Regions from separate parts of the Homo sapiens genome. Here all the other regions are linked to region 1. Evidence: promoter capture Hi-C in human tissues and cell types (Jung and others, 2019). All regions are on one chromosome and are shown on one strand. Each heading gives the region's core, a stretch centred on a gene start or on the middle of the fragment in contact. The rest is flanking DNA. Distances are from core to core; before and after follow the strand shown.

The links. Contacts are between HindIII fragments. The study calls those that stand out against the background at their distance.
Region 2: a fragment that was not itself captured here is called in contact with the fragment with the promoter of OR1N2 in region 1 in 5 of the 25 tissues and cell types used here (heart left ventricle, liver, mesenchymal stem cells and 2 more).
Region 3: a fragment that was not itself captured here is called in contact with the fragment with the promoter of OR1N2 in region 1 in 5 of the 25 tissues and cell types used here (dorsolateral prefrontal cortex, heart left ventricle, mesenchymal stem cells and 2 more).

What each region holds. Positions count from the first base shown.
Region 1 is chr9:122,551,605-122,555,086 of GRCh38, forward strand. OR1N2 (olfactory receptor family 1 subfamily N member 2) reads left to right here and starts at 1,508. Exons shown (of 1, transcript NM_001004457.2): 1 at 1,508-2,610. The coding sequence starts at 1,608. The coding sequence ends at 2,558. It also overlaps a transcript of OR1J2 not described here and a transcript of OR1L8 not described here. The HindIII fragment of the contact is 3,656 bases long and covers 1-2,791 here.
Region 2 is chr9:122,668,310-122,671,791 of GRCh38, forward strand. No RefSeq gene overlaps it. Among named protein-coding and RNA genes, the nearest start is that of OR1L3, 5.1 kb to the right of the region's middle. The HindIII fragment of the contact is 7,685 bases long and covers 1-3,482 here.
Region 3 is chr9:122,652,454-122,655,935 of GRCh38, forward strand. The region is part of intron 1 of OR1B1 (olfactory receptor family 1 subfamily B member 1); the gene reads right to left. Among named protein-coding and RNA genes, the nearest start is that of OR1B1, 3.4 kb to the right of the region's middle. The HindIII fragment of the contact is 8,888 bases long and covers 1-3,482 here.

The DNA.
Region 1 (3,482 bases), core at 258-2,757:
TACACTGCATTGCCAGCAAGAGGCTTCAGAATCACATTCCCGAGACCCACATTTGAGATCTTAACCCCTGGGAAAGAGAGGTCCTCAGCTCCCCTAGGATCCAGCCAGAGTTGGCTGGAGAACAGGCTGCACAATGACACCGAGGTCGACCTTAACGAGCACATTGGGAGATGGTGTTCTAGGAGCCTTTATAACCTTAAGAGATATTCCTGTCTTCTTATGCCCGGGGAAGCTGAAATCGAGCCATACACTTCAGGTATTTCTAATAAACTCTGGACTCAATAGACCCCGACTTTATTGCCTCTGAGTCAGAAAGGTCTCAGAGTTTTTTATTATGAATTATCCATCCAAGGAAGAGAATTGGAGAATTTGAAGATGCCTAAAACTGATCCATAATCTGACAGGTGAGGATTTGGAAGGGGTAGGACACATACACACACACACACACATACACTCTCTCTCTCTCTCTCTCTCTCACACACACACACATATACACCTTCCTTCCCAGTTCGATGATCAGGTGACCAGGCAAAAGTTTCCTGGGAAAGTGCTGAGTCTCTGCCTAAGGTCAGAAGCTTCTCTATGAACCAAAGAACAAATGGAGGACTAAAATAGTTACAAAAGCTTCTAAGGCCAAACTTCTACAAGATCAATATGAAATGGTTTCTCCTACCAGCTCACTAGGGCAGCAAAAAAACAGACTGGTTATTTTCAAACCAAAAAGTCAGGGCGATACCTTTCACCTTCCCTCCCTCTGGTTAAAAGTAAATATTAGATAAATGTAGTACAAATGTAGGGGTGAAGGCACAGGTGAACTAAAATATCAGTTCCCAGAGCAGATAGAGATGCATAGCAGCAAAAAAGGGAAGAGGACAGGGATAAAGGAGAGGAAGTGATGGAAGGGAGAGAGTGGCTCCCTGTCCTATTTGTATGCGTGTGTGTGGGAGGGAACATCCTAACAGTGGATGGGGGAGTACGACACCAGACACCTACTGCCCTCAGCTCACATATCCTTTGCCGCTAGTTAGGAAAGAGTACAGGACTGGTTTGAATGGGTGAGGTCAAATTCTCAGCACTGAAAGGCAAGTGGGGAGGAAGCTATCTTGTCTTAAAAGTCAATTTCAGCCCCCACAAAGAGGGCTTGAGTGTGTGTGTGTGTGTGTGTGTGTGTGTGTGTGTGTGTGTGTGTGTGTTGGAGGAGGGGTAGGAGTTTGATGGAGATCATGCATCTTCTTTCCAATTGACAATAACAAATGGCTTTTCTAATCTTGCCATCAAGCTATTCTCAATTCTCACTTCCTCTAAATAGCCCATGCCAATTTCTCTGGTCAAACAAATCTCTTTTCTTTGGATTCTGCTATAGCATACAAAGCACAATTGAGATTTGAATGGATATTATCTTAACTGTTCTCTAAATGTCTCTTGGGTATTTCCTTGCATTCCCAGTGAGATTCAGAGATTCTTATTGGCAAAGACCATTTATTTTTCTTTTCTTTTTCTCCCAGCACAGTTCTGGCCACACAGATGCATATCTGTAAATTGATCTAATAAATAAATACTGACACATGGAAGGTTTTTATCTGCGCAGATCACACGAACTACAAGGGATGGGAAAACCAGGCAGAGTGAACCAAACCACTGTTTCAGACTTCCTCCTTCTAGGACTCTCTGAGTGGCCAGAGGAGCAGCCTCTTCTGTTTGGCATCTTCCTTGGCATGTACCTGGTCACCATGGTGGGGAACCTGCTCATTATCCTGGCCATCAGCTCTGACCCACACCTCCATACTCCCATGTACTTCTTTCTGGCCAACCTGTCATTAACTGATGCCTGTTTCACTTCTGCCTCCATCCCCAAAATGCTGGCCAACATTCATACCCAGAGTCAGATCATCTCGTATTCTGGGTGTCTTGCACAGCTATATTTCCTCCTTATGTTTGGTGGCCTTGACAACTGCCTGCTGGCTGTGATGGCATATGACCGCTATGTGGCCATCTGCCAACCACTCCATTACAGCACATCTATGAGTCCCCAGCTCTGTGCACTAATGCTGGGTGTGTGCTGGGTGCTAACCAACTGTCCTGCCCTGATGCACACACTGTTGCTGACCCGCGTGGCTTTCTGTGCCCAGAAAGCCATCCCTCATTTCTATTGTGATCCTAGTGCTCTCCTGAAGCTTGCCTGCTCAGATACCCATGTAAACGAGCTGATGATCATCACCATGGGCTTGCTGTTCCTCACTGTTCCCCTCCTGCTGATCGTCTTCTCCTATGTCCGCATTTTCTGGGCTGTGTTTGTCATCTCATCTCCTGGAGGGAGATGGAAGGCCTTCTCTACCTGTGGTTCTCATCTCACGGTGGTTCTGCTCTTCTATGGGTCTCTTATGGGTGTGTATTTACTTCCTCCATCAACTTACTCTACAGAGAGGGAAAGTAGGGCTGCTGTTCTCTATATGGTGATTATTCCCACGCTAAACCCATTCATTTATAGCTTGAGGAACAGAGACATGAAGGAGGCTTTGGGTAAACTTTTTGTCAGTGGAAAAACATTCTTTTTATGATTAGACATCTAGACGGTGATGTCTAATCTTGATCAACCCCTCCCTGTCTTCCATCACTTCAGTAATTCTACTACTGTCATGTTGATATTAGGGGAAGGTTATCCGTTGACTCTGAGTTAGGGATGTAAAAAAAAAAAAAAGAGTGTTTCATTCTTTTATTAGGCTGTGGAATGAGATGTTCTGTCTCAGCCTCTTTCCTGACCCCAGTGAGGCAACCATTACTAACAGCAAAACTACTATTCCTCCTCACATCTCTAAAACCAGCATATTAGCCATAGTGAACAAGGCATTTGTTATGAGGCTCTGGAGCTGAGCAATTCTACCCCAGCAAGGCAGGCATGGGATGAGGTGAAGGAAGGAGAATAGAAACATTTATTGACTATCCACAATGTTCCTCATTATTCCTTACATCAGTTACTTTAGGTAGAATTGTGAAAACTGTGAATTAGGATGCTAAATAACTTAACAAGTCAATTTATGCCTATCGACTCCCTTTCTATTTTACCACTTTGTGAGGATCATGACAAGGAAGGTGTGAGTGTACATCTAAGGTTAATATTGAATGATAACAATAGGAGAAAAAGAATTAATATATGTTATGGTATTCCTTACTATTTCATTTCTTTAACTTAAAAGCACTCTTCTGTTGTAGTAAATAGATTAAAAGTAATCAATATTTGTTGTACACCTACTAGTGCCAGATTTGTACTAACTACACCATCCGTTCTCTGAATTCTTTCATAAAATATTCTAGAATCAAAAATGATAAATCAAGCATGCTGGAAATTTTTAGGGCAATAATTTGATGCAAAGCAATCTGGTGGAAACTGATATTATGAGAAGTCACAAAGCTTAACAATGGTTTTCTTTTTGCAATGAAATTCTAGGTTATCAATTTCTTCTTTATAGCTACATGTTTTGAAA
Region 2 (3,482 bases), core at 723-3,222, 120 kb after region 1:
AACATCAAATCTAAATGGATTAAAGACTTAAATCTAAGACCTCAAGAAAATATTGGGGAAAATGTTCAGGACATTGGTCTGAGCAAAAATTTCTTGAGCAATATCCCACAAGCACAGGCAACCAAAGAAAATGTGGACAAATGGGATCACATCAAGTTAAAAAGCTTCCACACAGGAAAGGATACAATCAGCAAAGTGAAGAGACAACCCACAGAATGAGAGAAAATGTTTGCAAATGCTATATCTGATAAGCAGTTAATGTTAATATTCAAAATATATAAGGAACTCAAACATTCAATAGTATGAAGGCAAATAATTTGGTTTTAAGGTAAGCAAAGGACCTGAATAGACATTTCTCAAAAGAAGATATACAAATGGCCAACAGGTATATTTTTAAATGCCCAACATTACTAATCATCAGAGAAATGTAAATTAAAACCACAATGAGATATTACTTCACACCTGTTAGAATGGCTGTTAGCAAAAAGTATAAAGATAACGATTGCAAAGATGTAAAGAAAAGGGAACAGTTACACACTGTAAGAATGTAGATTAACACAGCCGTTATGGACAACAGTATGGGGGCTCCTCAAAAAACTGAAATTATTATTACTATTACTATTTTTTGCGACAGAGTCTCACTCTGTCGCCCAGGCTGGAGTGCAGTGGTGCTATCTCGGCGGCTCACTGCAAACTCTGCCTCCCTGGTTGAAGCAATTCTTCTGCCTCAGCCTGCCAAGTAGCTGGGACTACAGGTGTGCACCATCACACTCGGCTGATTTTTGTACTTTTAGTAGAGGCGGGGTTTCACCATATTGGCCGGGCTGGTCTCTAACTCCTGACCTCATGATCTGCCCGCCTTGGCCCCCCAAGAGTGCTGGGATTACAGGTGTGAGCCACTGCACCCAGCCAAAAAACTGAAATTATTGTGTTGGATATAAAAATGCTCTAGGAAAAAATGCTTTGTGCCACAAAGTGAAACCAACACTTAGGCAAAAGTTGTCTCAGCAAGGCAATTCACTTCTGCAGAAGAGTGCCACTTGTGTCAATCAAGATCGCAAGAGCACAGGGAACAAAGGAGAGCAGTGAGTTTTTATCTCTGATGGTCGTTCTTACCTCTGTGTCACTCCGCCATGGGCTGGGGTCAGGCCGCACAATCTGAGCTGACCCAATTGGCTACTTGCAAATATTTTTCTAAATACGGAAGGGAAGGGGGACATGAGGTACAGTGGTAAAGCATGTGAGATGTCCAGTTTCAGGGGAACAATGGGTGCAGGTAACCAAGGGAATAGATGTGCATTATTGATTAGAGCTGACGGGAAGTGGATAGGCTATTTACAGTAACTAGGGGCAAGGAGGAACAAGAAAGTTGAGTTTGAAAACAAAGGACAAGGAAGTTGGGAGGCTAAATCTTTGAAGAGAAACTCAGAGAAATTCATTGTATCTTACAATTGATACAGGGGTTAAAAAGAAATTATTTAGGCAGTGAGTGAGGGTGAAAAAATACTTAGCGGGAATTTTCCTTTAATAAATAGCAGCTCCCAAATCATTTCTTTTCTAATAAAAAGCAGCATGAAAAATCAAGTTGCAAGCATAGATAAGCAAGCTGGAAACTTGCATAGGTAAATGCCAGCAGCTATGCCAGACACCACGTATATCCAACATGGCAATTCCCTCTTCCCTTTTCCTTGTTGCCATATGTGTGGGTGTCATGGCGCCAGCCAGGTGAAGGCTCCATTTGCATAATACAAGATAAAGTGGGACGGTCTGTTTCTTCACAGGCTATGTAAATGGCACACCTGGTCAAATCAAACCCCTGAGTCCTATGTAAATCAAACACTGACTCCTCAAGCCCCTCTATAAAATCGACCACATCTTACCCCAAACCTGGAAATCCACTTGGACACCCCCTTCCTCTGCATGAAGAAGCTCTCTTTCTCTCTCTTCCTCTCTCTTCTTTCTTATGCCTATTAAACTTTCCACTTTGTTCTCCTTAGTGTGAGACAACAAACGTCTGGTATTTCCCCAGACAATGAAACTCCTTCAATCTAACTACCATAGAATTCAGCAATCTCATTTCTGGGTATATATCCAAATGAATTTAAATCAGTCTTTCAAAGAGATATCTGCACCTCATGTTCATTGCAATATTGTTCACAGTAGCCAAGATATAGAATCAACCTAAGTATCTAACAACAGATGAAGGGATAAAGAAAACGAGGTGGCTAGGCACATTGACTCACATCTGTAATCTCCCCACTTTAGGAAGCCAAGGCCAGAGGATTGCTTGAGGCCAGGAGTTTGTGACTAGCCTGGGCCACATAGCAAGACACCATCTCTGCAAAAAAAATTTCTGTAATTAGCTAGATGTGGTGGCACATGCCTGTAGGTCTAGCAACTTGACAGGTTGAGGTGGGAAGATTGCTTGAGCCCAGGAGTTGAAGGCAGCAGTGAGTTATGACTGCAGCACTGCACTCCAGCATGGGCAACAGGATGAGGAAACAAAGAAAGAAAAGAAAAGAAAGAGAAAGAGAGAGAGAGAGGAAGGAAGGAAGGAAGGAAAGGGAGAGAGAGAGAGAGAAAGAGAGGAGGAAAGGAGGAAGGGAGAAAGGGAGAAAGAAAGAGAAAGAGAGAGAGAGAAGGAAATTTTGCATATTCCGTGTGTGTGTGTGTGTGTGTGTGTGTGTGTGTGTGTGTGTGTGTGTGTGTATTATTCAACCATAAAAAGAAGGAAATCCTGACATTTGCAACAACATGGATGAACTTGTAAGACATTATGCTAAGTGCAATAAACCAGATACAGAAGACAAATATCTTATAATCTCACTTATCTGTAAAATCTTAAAAAGTTGAACTTATAAAAACAGAGCGCACAGTGGTGGTTGCCAGGGACTGGGGGTGGAGGAAACGGGGAGATGTTGGTCAAAGGTCATGCACTTTCAGTTATAAAGTGAATAAGCTCTGGGGATCTGAAGTAAAGCATGGTGAACATAGTTAATAATATCATATTGTTTACTTGAAATTTACTAAGACAGTAGATCACAAGTGTCCTCACCAAACACACACACACTATGTGTGGTGATGGATGTGTTAATTAATTTGATTTTGACAATCATTTCACAATGCATGTATATATCAAATCATCAATTGTATACCTCGAGTGTATACCGTTTTTATTTGCCAATTATAATATAAATTTAAAATAAAATCCTAACCACCCCCTATCCCACCAACTAAATGAATGCCCAGGTAGCCAACGGGACTCCAGAAAAACCTTAAAACCAAGTTCCTGGCCATGTCAGGATGGTAGGTTAGACAGGCTTCACTATATACCCTCTCTTTTATGATGTAGACACAACAACTGATCAGCATTATTGTTAAAATAGACATCATAAGATGAACAGAACAGACTCTTAGTGGCAATAAGATACCAAATTATAAATGGGACCTATGGCCATGCCAGGCAAGGGTTAAGTCACACA
Region 3 (3,482 bases), core at 280-2,779, 100 kb after region 1:
AAAACCCTCACTTTCAACTCCACCGTTATTGATTTAGTTTCACTTAAACCACATCATCTGTTCCATAAATAAGTGTTCTTATTTTGAAATATGTCTGCAATACTTTATTTAATTTGTATCTTTATTACAGGTTTAGAGTTAAATCTGTATATTGATACATTCATTAGGGCTTAGAATTTTCTGTTCATATATATTCTACTGACTTTAAAATAAAACAGGTTAACTCAGGTTCTATGTTTGTTGTTGTTTTTTTTTCATCTTAAAGTAACTGTATAATGCTCAAGTTTGATAACTTCAGCTCCAGATGATTTATCAAGGAATGATCCAAAATTAACCCTCATTATATTATCTATCTTAAATCCCTGGGGATTGGAAGGATATAGGGGAATAACTTTCATCTCTTGGTTCTTCAACTTGTCTCTTACGGAATGTAGCTCTCCTATAATCACAGTGGGGAAGTCAAAGCCCCCTGCTCCAAGCTAAGGGTGCCTGTGACACTAGGCTGTAATTTCCACAATGTGGGATCCACCTGGAGTCCCAGCATTACTGTGCTCAAAGTAACCAGGCACTCAGGACTAAGGCCAGCTAGACTGAGGACTTGGCATCAGCCCAAGATAAACAGACAGTCATAAGTGTTTTAAATTGACCAAGATGAAAAGGGACACTTTCCTTGGAGATAGAAAAGGCTCTGAGGAATATGAGAATGTACTGATGATAAAGCACTAGTTAATATGTATTAATGTAATATGTATTATGTATTAATGTTGACAGACACCATGCTACGTATTAAATGCTTTGTTCATTTCAGGCTCACAGTGCATCTTTGAGTTAGTACTATGAAAGGAAGTATAGCTTCATGTTTAGACTAACCAAGTCTGAGTTGTAATCCCAGCTCTAACACCCATCAACTGTGTGATCTTTGGAAAATATCTTAACCTGTCTATGCCTCAATTTTCTTACTTGTAAATGAGGAAGATAGTCCCTGTCTCATAATATTGCTACTATTAAATAAGTTTTCATAAAATTCTTAGAACACAGATTGACACATGGTAAATACAATATAAGACATTCTATTACTGTTGGTATCCTTCAACAGTAGGTAAATTGAGATCTTCCACTGTCTCATGTAAAAGTTTCAGAAAGATGAGTTCCTCATCTGTCTGAAACCAAGCCTGTGTTCTTAAACACCCACCATAGCACTTCCCCCTGGCTGAAATTGAGGTTATAAAAACAGATTTCTCCAACTTCACAATATTTCCCTTGGTAATATCTGAAGGAATTTATTCTTGTTAAGGAGAGAGGGGTTTTAAGTGGTAAGGATATTATTCAACCTGCTTACACTCAAGATCCCCTCAGACAGTAGAGAAAGAGCTCTTATTAATTGAGAGCCTACTAACAAAGATTCTGGACTAGACAATTCATGCATTTATGCATTTTTTGAGTGTTTATAATTTAGTTTCCATCAAATCTCTTTAACATATTATTAAATACTTATTTTCTCCAGTATTAAAAGGCAAATATTGAGCATAAGATATGCTCAAAAAATAAATTAGAGATCAACACAGTAAACATGCTCCAGAAAAAGAGACTCTTTTCCATACTCTATGTATTTTTTAATTGATCACCAACTATGTGAAAAGGGCTCTAATGGGGATTGAGGATGCAATGATGAAAAAAATAAATAATTATGTACCTAATGGAGCTTCCATTGTAGCTAGGATAAAAGATAAGACATAACTTCAAGTGTCATGTAAACAATCAAAGGGAAGAGTGCAATTACAAATGAGGACAGTTTTATTAGCCCTACTTTCCTGATGCATGACTGAGACTATACAAAGAGGTAGGTTCTTTCCTGAACCACAACTTGGAGAAGGTATCCAGAGCGAGACTTGCTCACAGCATCTATCTGATTCCAGTGCTCTCCTAAGACCCAGCTGTTTCCTTCGTGGGAACTCAGTGCTCTGCTGCATCAAGAATACTCCCCTTCTTTCTGCTCTAACCAGATGGGGTCCATTTCTTATGGTTTTGACAATATTTTTGTTTTTCATTTCAATGACCTCTGAAGATATACCAAATTTCCCATTGTCTTTCCTAGAGTTTCAGAGAAGAAAGTACCACTCCTTCTTTATTTCATCAAAACTTTTCATCCCTAAAGCTTATTCTTCCTGTCTAACTGAAACTTTGTACCCTTCAGTCAACATGTCCCCTTCACCCAACCCAACTCCATCACCAGTCTCTGGTAACCACCTTTCTACTTTCTACTTCTAATGAGTTCAACTTTTCTAGATTCCACATAGAAGTGAGATCGTGCAGTATTTGTCTTTCTGTGCATTACTTATTTCAGTCTGCATGATGTCCTCTAGATTTATCCATGTTGTCACAGATAACAGGATTTCCCCCCTTTGTAAGGCTAAATAATATAGCACAGAATGGTGACTATAATAATTATGCATTGTATATTTCAAAATTACTAAAAGACTTTAAATGTTTTCAGCAAAAACTGAAAATTACTTGTGGTGATGGATTTGTTAATTAGCCTGATTTAATCATCCAGCATTGCAAACATACATCAAAATATCACATTGTACTCCATAAATTACACAATTATTATTTGTCAACTAAAAATAAACATTTAAGAAAAATTCTCCATCATTCCAGGTCCTTCACTGCACCATTCACCCTGCTCCCCCAGGCACATTATTTTCAAAGCACTAAAACAACTTTTTAATATCAAAAGAAAGAATGTGTGATGAGGGGTCAAAGAGGAAGGAAAAAAGGAAAATACAGCATCCACCTTTAACTAATTTGGGAGTTAAATTTTCCCCACAGATCTATCTTCCTTCAAGTCCTCTCTACTCAGTGGGGTCCAGACTGTTCCTGACCAAAGCCCTCCTATTACCGGCTCCTTGAAAGTCCTATTCTGTGAAATTTCTCCTACTTTTACACATAAAATGACAGAGCCTTACCTAAATCAACCCAGACGCCCATCAACGATAGATTGGATAAAGAAAATGTGGCACATACACGCCATGGAATACTATGCAGCCATAAAAAGGAATGAGAATGAGAGATCATGTCCTTTGTAGGGACATGGATGGAGCTGGAAGCCGTGATCCTCAGCAAACAAACACAGCAACAGAAAACCAAACACCACATGTTCTCACTTATAAGTGGGAGCTGGCAATGAGAACACATGGACACAGGGAGGGGAATGACACATACTGGGGCCTGTTGGGGGTTGGGGTGGGGGGAGGGAGAGCATTAGAAAAAATAGCTAATGCATTCTGGGCTTAATACCTAAGTGACAGGTGCAGCAAACCACCGTGGCGCACCTTTACCTATGTAACAAAACTGCACATCCTGCACATGTACCCCAGAGCTTAACATTAAAAAAAAAAAAAAGTCCTATTTTGTGAAATTTCTTCTGCTTTTACACGTAGAATGACAGAACTTTACCTAAGTCTTCCTTGAAGTGGTAGCCT